Linked DNA regions of Homo sapiens: region 1 is linked to region 2. Evidence: promoter capture Hi-C in 16 types of primary human blood cells and fetal thymus (Javierre and others, 2016). All regions are on one chromosome and are shown on one strand. The core of a region is centred on a gene start or on the middle of the fragment in contact, and the rest is flanking DNA. Distances in the headings are between cores, read along the strand shown. Region 1 overlaps LOC124901232 (translation initiation factor IF-2-like). Region 2 holds the start of SNX14 (sorting nexin 14).

The links. Contacts are between HindIII fragments. The CHiCAGO score rates a contact against its expected background, and 5 or more counts as called.
Region 1: a contact is called between a fragment that was not itself captured here and the fragment with the promoter of SNX14 in region 2, in 1 of 17 cell types (total B cells). The highest score is 6.1, in total B cells.

Annotation. Positions count from the first base shown.
Region 1 is chr6:151,396,537-151,402,331 of GRCh38, reverse strand. It overlaps LOC124901232 (translation initiation factor IF-2-like), which reads right to left. Exons shown (of 3, transcript XM_047419613.1): 3 at 1-5,795. Among named protein-coding and RNA genes, the nearest start is that of ZBTB2, 7.9 kb to the right of the region's middle. The HindIII fragment of the contact is 5,623 bases long and covers 1,708-5,795 here.
Region 2 is chr6:85,591,071-85,596,409 of GRCh38, reverse strand. It overlaps SNX14 (sorting nexin 14), which reads left to right and starts at 2,552. Exons shown (of 29, transcript NM_153816.6): 1 at 2,552-2,831. The coding sequence starts at 2,692. RefSeq lists enhancers at 2,260-2,379, 2,690-2,859, 2,308-2,891, 2,892-3,475, 3,476-4,061 and a silencer at 2,410-2,629. The HindIII fragment of the contact is 2,215 bases long and covers 1,075-3,289 here.

The DNA.
Region 1 (5,795 bases), core at 3,270-5,769, about 66 Mb before region 2:
CTTTGAATCTTTAAGAAATATCACAACTGAAACTTACAGAATAGATGTTACTGAATCCTGCACTGGAACAGAATGGTTAACTTAAATATAGCAATATTTTGACTGTATAAAATAGGGTGGCTCCTCAGTGCAAGCCCAAAAAGACTCTTTTAAAAACTACACATTTTTGCATATACCAAACAGCGGTGGCCAACAGGTATTCTGGGGTGCCTTCTTGGATAACCATAGCAGTCAGATGCAGACTTTTTTTTTTAAACACATAAAATCAGTATCTTTCTAGTTTTACCATTTTAAAAATAAACCATATTTGCCTATTTTAAATTACTGTCCTGTCTACTATCTAAAGCAGGTCTTCCAAAGTATGGTCCTCAGACCAGTTGCATCAGCAAATACTCAAGACTGTCCATTAATATTACTAACTCCTGAGTTCTACACCACACTAAATCAGAACGTCTGGGGCCGGAGCTAGGAAAATCTGTTTCTTCTAATTCTCCAGGAGACTCCTATGCTCCCTAAGCTCTGAGAAGCACTAACTTAGTCTATGTATTGGTTTACACTCAGGTTACACAGATTTTAAATAATTCATTAGCACTCTCTTGCTTACCAAGTACTAATCTCAAGTGACTCAGTTCTCTCTTTCACCAACCCAATCTCCTCAGACCCTGCTCTATGCCTTTACAAAGTGCCTGTGTTGGGAGAAGGTGATGTGTATGAGAAGTAGAGGGAATTTTTCCAAATCCAAATCTACTCTCACTTTCAGCTCTCTCCACTGGTTCTGAATTGCCATTTTAAAGGAAGGTTTAATGTCACCATTCTAAATTCCCTTCCCTCATAGAGGGTTAATGAAACAATTTTTTTTTTTGAGAGTCTCACACTTTCACCCAGGCTGGAGTGCAGTGGCACGATCTCGGCTCACTGCAAGCTCCGCCTGCCTCCCAGGTTCACGCCATTCTCCTGCCTCAGCCTCCCGAGTAGCTGGGATTACAGGTGCCTGCCACCACACCCAGCTAATTTTTTGTATTTTTAGTAGAGACGGGGTTTCACCGTGTTAGCCAGGATGGTCTCGATCTCCTGACCTCGTGATCTGCCCACCTCGGCCTCCCAAAGTGCTAGGATTACAGGCGTGAGCCACCGCGCCCAGCCTTTTTTTTTTTTTTTTAAGACAGAGTTTTGCTCTGTGGCCCAGGCTGGAGTGCAATGGCGCGATCTCCGCTCACTGCAACCTCCGCCTCCCGGGTTCAAGCGATTCTCCTGCCTCAGCCTCCCGAGCAGCTGGGATTACAGGTGCCCACCCCCATGCCCAGCTAATTTTTGATATTTTTAGTAGAGGCGGGGTTTCACTATGTTGGCCAGGCTGGTCTTGAACTCCTGACCTCAGGTGATCCACCCGCCTCAGCCTCCCAAAGTGCTGGGATTACAGGCGTGAGTCACCACACCCGGGCAACAAAATTTTTTAAAGACCACATTTTCACTTCCTCTGAACAATATCAAACAAAACGTGGACTTTTAAACGTTTTTAAAACAAAATCTTTCCACATCCCCTAGACTGTTAAAATAATCTGGGAAGCATGCAGCATTGTAAAACTGACTCATATTCATTTTCTCATCCAATTCCACAATTACTTATTAGAACTTATGATGGGCTGCTCTAAGATCTAAGACATAGTGGTAAAGATGACACATAGGGCCCCTGGCTTTCACAAAGCTTACATTCCAACGAAGACATCAGGAAAACTAAGTAATCTGCTTATAGACAGATGCTCTATAAAGAAATCTAGGGCTGGGCGTGGTGGCTTATGCCTGTAATTCCAGCACTTTGGGAGGCAGAGGCGGGTAAATCACCTGAGGTCCGGAAATTGAGACCAGCCTGACCAACATGGAGAAACCCCGTCTCTACTAAAAATACTAAATTAGCCAGGTGCGCTGGCATGTGCCTGTAAACCCAGCTACTCAGGAGGCTGAGGGAGGAGAATCGCTTGAACCCAGGAGGCAGAGGTTGCGGAGCCGAGATGGTGCCACTGCACTCCAGCCTGGGCAACAAGAGCGAAAATCCGTTTCAAAATAAAAAATAAAATCTACACAAGAGGTAGAGAGGTGATGTGAAAACTCAGGAAAATGGAACAGACTAGTTAAGGAACTTACAATATCCTTAAGATTTAGACATCACCAGTTGAATTTAAAAACTCAAAACAGAGATTCTGGTTAAGTAGAAACTTGACTTTTAATCTAGCTTCTACACACAAGGCTTGGGAAGTTGCTTATTCAACAATTTAACAAAAATTAACGATGTAATTCCAATCAAATCTAAACCTCTAGCCACAAAACCTTAAATTCAAGGTGCTGATCTTAATCTAAAAAACCTCATGTGGTTTGGGTTCTGGTTACCTTAGAGATTTGACTCTAAGCACCCAAAGGCAATTAAGATTAGATGAAATACTTGGCCGATGGTTCACTACTGAAACCTGATGAACTGGAATCCTCTGATTTTGTGTGTCTCTTTTCAGATAGGGTGACCAACCATTCTGGGGTTTTGTTTGTTTGTTTGTTTTTCAGACACAGTCTCAGTCTGTCACCCAGGCTGCAGTGCATTGGCACAATCTTGGCTCACTGCAAGCTCTACCTCCTGGGTTCAAGCGATTCTCCTGCCTCAGCCTCCCAAGCAGCTGGGATTACAGGCGTGCATCACCATGTCAGGCTATTATTAGAGACGGGGTTTCACCATTTTGGCCAGGCTGTTCTCAAACTCCTGACCTCGTGATCTGCCCACTTCAGCCTTCCAAAGTGCTGGGATTACAGGAATGAGCCACGGCGCTTGGTCCCATTCTGGGTTTGACTGGGACCAAGGGGTTTCCTGAGAGCGGCCAGACTTTCACTGCTAATACTGGCAAAGTCCTGGGCAAACCAGGACTGGTCACGCTATCTTCGGCCACATTTTAGAAACTGATATTTTAACAGCCACCTTTTTCAACTCTGGACTTTGTGGCAACTCTACAGAGCTTTAATATGGATCAACTACTAAAAACAAGAACCTTCCCTAAAGAAAAGCATGTTAATGTCACACATGGTTTTTACCAATCAGGTGGAAGCAGTAATTTTTCCCTATATATTTTACCATTTATTTTACTTTTAAACACAAAAATCCTGAGCCAAACACTACTTGAAGAACTGTTAAGGAATTCAGATTCACGTTTAGGAAATAATGATTCAAAATTAAAATGTCTTTAAAGATCAGTTTTCAACGACTGATAGATGTAACAACTTGGACAAATCGCTCTCAACCCAATCTGGCTGGGTAAAGGAAGCCAGTGTGCAAAGGCGACATACTGTGTAATTCCATTTATGTAACATCCTAGAAAAGGTAAAACTATAGTGATGGACAACAGATCGGTGACAGCCAGGGGTTAGGGGTGGAAACAGCACAGGTCTATAAAGACAGCAAAATAAAGTGATAGACCTGGCCTATATTCTCGTGTTGGTGATTACAACAAATAAATACTATGTTAAAAATCACAGAACGGTATACTGAAAAAAAAAAGTCACTTTTACTACATAATTCTAAGGTTTTTTTTTAAATCAGTGATGATTTCAAAAATATACCGATTTTATCATTTACTGAGGTACTGTGCTACGGCCCCCCTCCTGTTTTTATGTTCACCCAATGTTATGAGATAATTACTATTAACCCTATTTGAGAAGGAAAACTTGAGGCTCAGAGGTTCAGTAACATGCCCGAAGCCATACAGTGTGTAAGGGACGGACCATAATTCCAACCCAGATCTGATTCCAAAGGCTATATTCTCAACCACTACCAAACACTACACTCTCCCCCCTCTGTTCATAAATATCAACCACTCTATCCCTCCCAATGACAATATCAGGAGGCTATTGTTTCCTAATTCTATTCTGAACTCAATACACTATTGATAACGTGAAAATAGGGAGAAGCAAAACATGATTCTAGAGCAGTGATGTCCAACTGAACTTTCTCCAATAATAGAAATGTTTTATATTATCTGTGCTGCCCAAATATGGTAGCCTCTAGCCACAGGTGGCTACTCAGCACACATGGCTAGTGTGACACTGAGTTGAACTGGACAGCACAGTTCTAGAGAAATGATGTGACAAGAATGTACATGTCACAGAAGGAAACAATTTATTAAATTATGATGGTAACTCACCAACGATAAAAGGAAAATAATTCAAGGGAGATGTATAGTAAAGGAATGAAGCTAAGAAATGCACCACCCCCAAAGCACATCACAAAACTAAGTCTATCTTTTTTTTTTTTTTTTTTTTTGATACAGAGCCTCGCTCTGTCACCAGGCTAGAGTGCAGTGGCAACATCTCGGCTCACTGCAACCCTCCAACTCCCTGGTTCAAACGCTTCTCCTGCCTCAGCCTCCCGAGTAGCTGGGATTACAGGCATGCACCACCACGCCCAGCTAATTTTTGTATTTTTAGTAGAGACGGGGTTTCACCATGTTGGCCAGGATGGTCTCGATCTCCTTACCTCAAGTGATCCACCCGCCTCGGCCTCCCAAAGTGCTGGGGTTACAGGCGTGAGCCACCGCACTTGGCCACTAAGTCTATCTTCTGAACACCTGCTCACCGACCAAGATTCAGCTTAAAGTTATCTACATACCCACAGCACTCTGCACATCTGCAGTATAGAATAAATTGTACTAAGTATCTGTGTTTTTCTCCCCCAGTGGACTGTGACCACCTGAAGAGCAGAGATAGGTATTCATATATGCACCACTAGCATCCAATACCTATACGCAGATGTTTTCTGCAACAATAAACACCTTTTTCACTCAGTTCGAGTGGGAAAATGATCATCTTAGATCCTTTAACTACAAATTCAACTCAATTCTGCAAGCAATTGAGTACCAGGAGTGTACATAAAAAGAAGTACCTGCCCTCAGGGAGCTTACAGTGAGAGTGAGAGATACAAGATATAGGGAGACAAGTAACAAGCAAAAAGGGTAATCAAAATTAATTGTGTACAAACAGTACTTTAGGTCAGAATAGAAACAGTCAGGAATCATAGTGGTAAGGGAAAACTGAAAAATGATTTAAGTAGCCATTATCCGGCCAGGCGCAGTGGCTCATGCCTGTAATCCTAGCACTTTGGGAGGCCAAGGCAGGTGGCACACCTGAGGTCAGGAGTTCGAGACCAGCCTGGCCAACATGGTGAAACCCCATCTCTACTAAAAATACAAAAATTAGCCGGGTGTGGTGGTGCACGCCTATAATCCCAGCTACTCAGGAGGCTGAGGAAGGAGAATCACTTGAACCCGGGAGGTGGAGGTTGCAGTAAGCCAAGATTGTGCCACTACACTCCAGCCTGTGAGATGGGAGTAAGACTCCATCTCAAAAAAAAAAAAAAAAAAAAAAAAAAAAGTAGCCATTAGCCCATTCCGTGAAGCAAAGGTGTAAGATAACTTATTGTATCCCAACCTATAATTTAGAAAAGCCTAATGGATTAAAAAAATTTTTAAGGAAGTCTTTAGAAATTTATCCTGCCTTCGCTCACTACCAATGTCATCCTATTCCTTTTATCACTAAGCTAAAACTAGTCTTAGAACAAAATCCTTCCAGATCCAAAATTTCTATGAAAATTTCACAGCATAAAGAAGTGTAGTCTTCTTTACACTTAAATTCTCATCATCTTTAAGTCACAACATCCTTTTGGGTTCTCAAAATGTGCTAATTGGAATTAGTTTGCACAGTACATCTCATAGTGAGTATACAGGCAGCATCTGGAATGGTCTATTCAAAGTAGTTTGAATTCA
Region 2 (5,339 bases), core at 1,303-3,802:
AGATGTAGAACTTTAGCGTAGGCAGTCAGCCTTTCTGGACCTCAGTTTTCCTAGAAATCAGGTATTTAATATGTCATTTTCATTTTAGATTGTCGTAATCCAAATAAAAGCTAATTGGTTTAGCTCATTATTGTCATGTTCATAAAGCCATAAAATTTGAAAAAAAAATTTTGTCTTAAGCATTGTACAGAGATATTTAAGAGGCACTTTCCAACTTTCCACCCATTTTAGCCCCCACCCCCCACCTGTTTTATGAAAATAGCTCTGTTTTAGAGTTGAGGTAGGAGTGAGATAGATCAAGTTAATCTTGCTAACATGTTGCTAGTAGGAGATAGAGCTAGTTTCAGAACCAGGGTTGGTTGATTGTGGATATTCCATATAACCTCTCCAAAGTTCAGAACTTAACAAGGTTGGGGAAAAAATTTCGAGCTCTGTGCGTGTAAAGGTGGGTTCTAGACCATAGGCTAAAGACATGTAATGAAATAAAGGTTATTTCCTTAGATGAGGTCCGTAGTGACAGAAATTGAATTATGTTTCATGCTTTAGGTGTGGAAATTCTCTGCCATAAAGAATTTCCTTATGGCTGAAGTTTATTATATTTTTTTTCCTTTTCTAATCATAAGAGCAATTTGGAAATTTAAATTATCTATTGTCCAGTTAACTTATTCTAATTGCCTCTAAGAAATCAGATGGGAAAGAAGTCTTTTAATTGGATGTTGTAGTGATGTCTGTTTTGAACAGAACTCAAAACATTTTGTCTTTAAAATATACTGGCTCTTGGTGAAAAGAGTAATTTCAAAATAAGGCTTTAAAAGGAAGCAAAAGTTTTAAACAAAAGGCAACATAATTTACCAGGCAGGTTAATAACTTACATTATTTGTCATGAGATTAGTTTTTTAAAAGGTAATTTACAAAAGTGTAAAGCACTCAAGTCCATAGGAGGCACTTGATACATGTAGATCCACTCAACATACACCTATTTTAGTATTAACAGATAAAGATACTTAAAAACTGCCAAAGTGAAATTAATAAATGTTTAAATATGTACCTAGAAATATTAAAAAATGGTAAGCTTTCCAATGATGTTACACTGTAGTCTTTTAAATGGTTTAGTCACAAACAGAAAAGTGTATTTGTGATGTTTAGACAATAATAGCTAATCGTGAGGATCAGTGAAATTGTTTACTTTTATACACCACTGTGGAGTTGGTACCACCATTCTACAAAGCAGTTTGACTGTATCAAGAATGTTTGTTTTTACCCTTTGACCCAGTAATTGTATTAAAGTTGATTCTAAATAATTAGAAATGTGCATAGGTTTATCATCAAGGATGGTAATATCAATGGACTTTAGTGGTTAGCAATAATGGAACAGGATGGTACATTCTGATAAAGGATAATAATGCATCATTAAAGATCCATGTTTTTGTAATACGGGAAAATATTCATGAAACTACATACATCATTAAAAAACATTTGTTTCCCCACTTTGAAGGATAAGATCCTAGGAAAGAGAGATGACAGGCACAGGCTCTGTCTTTAGAACGTGTTCAAATTCCGGCTTTGTTAGTTTTATGATCCTAAGTTCCTTTCTGTCTCAGTAATTTGCCTGTATAATGATTGAAACTATAGTACTGTACCTACACCATGGGGTGAATGCATGAAGGTCAAATGAAAGTGCTTAGTGTCTGTACCGCCTAAGTAAATTTTCGCGATAATAGTCTTCCTGCATCTCTCACTGTAGCGGACAATACAGAAAAAAAAATTTAGAAATGTGATGAATTAGTAAAGGGAAAACCCCATGAGACTCTATAAGAGGGATTTTACCTAATCTGCCAACCTGCCTCTTCCAAGCACTCGGATTTTGGTTGGGCTCCCGGAGCCGGCGTGAATTGAGCTCTACCCTTGCCCGTGAGCGCGCAAAAGAGATTTTGTTGGTGGGGTGGCGGCCTGATGAGTTGTAGTCTTTATTCTAGGGCTGTTTTACTCGCCACCCCCCCAGCCCCCAACACACCCCTTTTAAAATACCGACTCAAAGGCGTCCTCCTATCCCCCTCTCCCTTAGGCGTCACGCAAAGCTCGGACCTGCTCCCACCCGGAGCCGAGTGTACGGTGAGGCGCGGAGCGTTGCGGGGTCGGGGAAGCGCTACCACCCGCTCCATCCCTCTGCGGGTTCGTGTCACGAAGACTACAGTTCCCAGCGGGCTCCACGAGCTCCGGTTGCCCCTCAGGCAGCGCCCGGCGGCTACGGGGGTGCTGTAGTTTCTTCCGGGCTCCCTACAACCTTCTTCCCTCTCCTCCGCAATACAGGCAGTTACTGGGTGCTGGGGCTGTCCTTTGATTTCCGGAAATGGCCGGTCGCCAGTGTTGTCAGAGTTTCCACGGAAGACTGCGCGCTACTCCGGCCAGGAGGGCGGAGCGGCGAGACGCTAGAGGCTTTGCGCTGGGTGACGACTTCGGGCACGTTCTACGGCCGTTCCTCTGGTCGGCTGGGGACCGCGGCCGCGCACGCGCGGCGGGGGGCGTGGGGCTGGGCCCAGCCGGACGCGACCTCAGCCTGCGGCGGCTAACTGCCGGTAGGCGTCTGTGTGCGCCGCCAAGTCGGTGGGGCGGGGACGCGAGGTGTGGATGGGGGGTCGCCTTGACCTCTGCCTCAGCCAGTAGCGCAGTCTCGGCCTCGCCGTTACGGAGATGGTGCCCTGGGTGCGGACGATGGGGCAGAAGCTGAAGCAGCGGCTGCGACTGGACGTGGGACGCGAGATCTGCCGCCAGTACCCGCTGTTCTGCTTCCTGCTGCTCTGTCTCAGCGCCGCCTCCCTGCTTCTTAACAGGTAACGCCGCAGCGCGGAGCCTGGGCGGCGGCTTTTCTCCGAAGGTGCAGACGCCCGGCCCGTGCTGCTTAACCGTGCGGAGGCCGCGTAGCTGCGGGACTGGGGACCAGTGGGGAGAGCGAGCTCCGCAGAGGAGCGGCCTCGGGGAGCACGGCGGAGCGTCGAGGCCGGAAGCACAGGCCGGTGGGGTGGGGTTGATTGCCTCCTTTCCCGAGGCTTCGTCTCCTGAGCTACCTTTTTCTCATCCATTTCTCAAAACGAGTTCTTCATCTTCGTTGCTTTTCAAAAGTGAAATCCGTGTGTCGGCTCAAATTGAGACTGTACACAGGCAGTCAAGTCAGCTGACGGAGGAGTGTTCAAGGTCCAGTTCGTAGCCGCAATTTTAGGCAGAATCCGCACACCTGCAGCGCGTTCTTCCATCTCCCCACCTCCCACCCCCTCAGCTTGCAGCTGAAGCTTTTCCCGCAGTATTGTTGAATAAAACAGACGATCATAAAGATTTGTTGGACAGAAATCAGAAAGCAAAGTGGTACCCGTCCCAACATCCTTAGAATTTTTTATTTTTGAGACGGAGTCTCGCTCTGTCACCCAGGCTGGAGTGCAGTGGTGCGGTCTCGGCTCACCGCAAGCTCCTCCTCCCGGGTTCACGCCATTCTCCTGCCTCAGCCTCCCGAGTAGCTGGGGCTACAGGCGCCCGCCACCACGCCACCACGCTACCACGCTAATTTTTTTGTATTTTTTTTTTTTTTTTTTAGTAGAGACGGGGTTTCACCGTTTTAGCCAGGATGGTCTCGATCTCCTGACCTCGTGAGCCGCCTGCCTCGGCCTCCCGAAGTGCTGGGATTACAGGCGTGAGCCACCGCACCCGGCCACATCCCTATAATATTCTTAAGAGGACTTGATGCCACCCTCCCCAAAAAAACCTGAAATATTCCGAAAGGTTAAAATTGATAAATTCAATTGACATTTTGAAATCAGAAGATTCTGCCCCCGAAATAAACTTGTTTTACTTCATTTTACTATTTCAAGAAATTGTTGCGATGCAATAGGTAGTAGAGGAGACTTTTCCATTAAAATTAACACCAGATTTGCTTTTGGTGGAAAGAAATCTGAGATAGTTCTCATTGACAGCATCCGCAAGCTGTTTTCTCTGATGTTTTGAACAGGCAACCATTCTTACTCTTTATCTTAAGGTAGTTGATTCCCAAGGATAGCAACAGGGAGGAATGCGCAAGGAATTTGGTAACTTCATTTTTCTCTGGTGTAACCATTATTTGTGACTATGTTGAAGTTAGATTTCTTCCCTAAAAGTGGCCTTGCTTTCTTGTTGATTCTTGGTTTAAATATTATTGAGCTTAAATAGTAGTTGATGTTTTACTGAGAAGTGTGCTCTGTGATGGTGAGATGTTTGAACTGTAGGAGTGTGGGAGAAGTGGGATCCTTAACAGAGGGAACACTAATTATTATTTGCTTTCTGTCATCTGGAAGGTATTCCAAGCTAGACTAACAGGTTTAGTATGAAAGAAATGTAAGCTTCATATGATTTTTATTTTTATTTTTATTTTTGAGACGGAGTCTCACTCTCTTGCCCAGGCTGGAGTGCAGTGATGCGGTCTCGGCTCACTGCAACAGCCACCTTCCAGGTTCAAGTGATTCTCATGCCTCAGCCTGCAGAATAGCTGGGACTACAGGTGGGCACCACCATGCCCGGCTACTTTTTTTACATTTTTAATAGAGACGGGGGTTTCACCATGTTGGCCAGGCTGGTCTCGAACTCCTGATCTCAAGTGATCCACCTACCTCAGCCTCCCAAAGTGCTGGGATTACAGGCGTGAGCGACTGCACGCAGCCCATATGATTAACTTTTGTCCATGGATTCTTACCTACCTCTTTTGGGAACTGGGTCAGTTTAGGTTTCTAAGGTAGGAGAGCCATCTAGTAGGAGCAGGTTAAACTAGATTTCTGAGGTCATCTACTTATGGTCATAACATTTAGTGTTGTGTGTTATTAAAAAGTCATAGGATGCCATCTGATCTGTATACCATCTAACCTGTACCCTGTATTTCTTTTATGCAGAGAAGGTAGGAAATACAGGTAAATGTTACCTGAGTGGTTGGGTTTATGAGTGAAGCTGTTTTTGCATATGTTTTGGTGTTTTCCATTTGTTACTGCTGTAGTCAGCAAAAGTGATTTTAAACACTAGAACTGTCTTGAATAAAACCATGATTATGTATCCCTTTTCCAGGAAAAATCTTTTGGAAGGTGCCAGATGGTGTATGTAGCATGCTTTTCAGTGTATATGTGTGATTAAAAAAAAAAAAACTTATGTGTGTATTCACGTACACACACACACACACAGATGATAAGAGTATCTCTGAAATGTTGTTATACAAGAAAACATGGGCCCTTCTGAGATGGGGTATACTAGGTACATCTATTCTGAAATAAAAAATAATTTTATATGAAGTTGATCCTTGAACAGTGCAGAGATTAGGGCCACTGACCCCT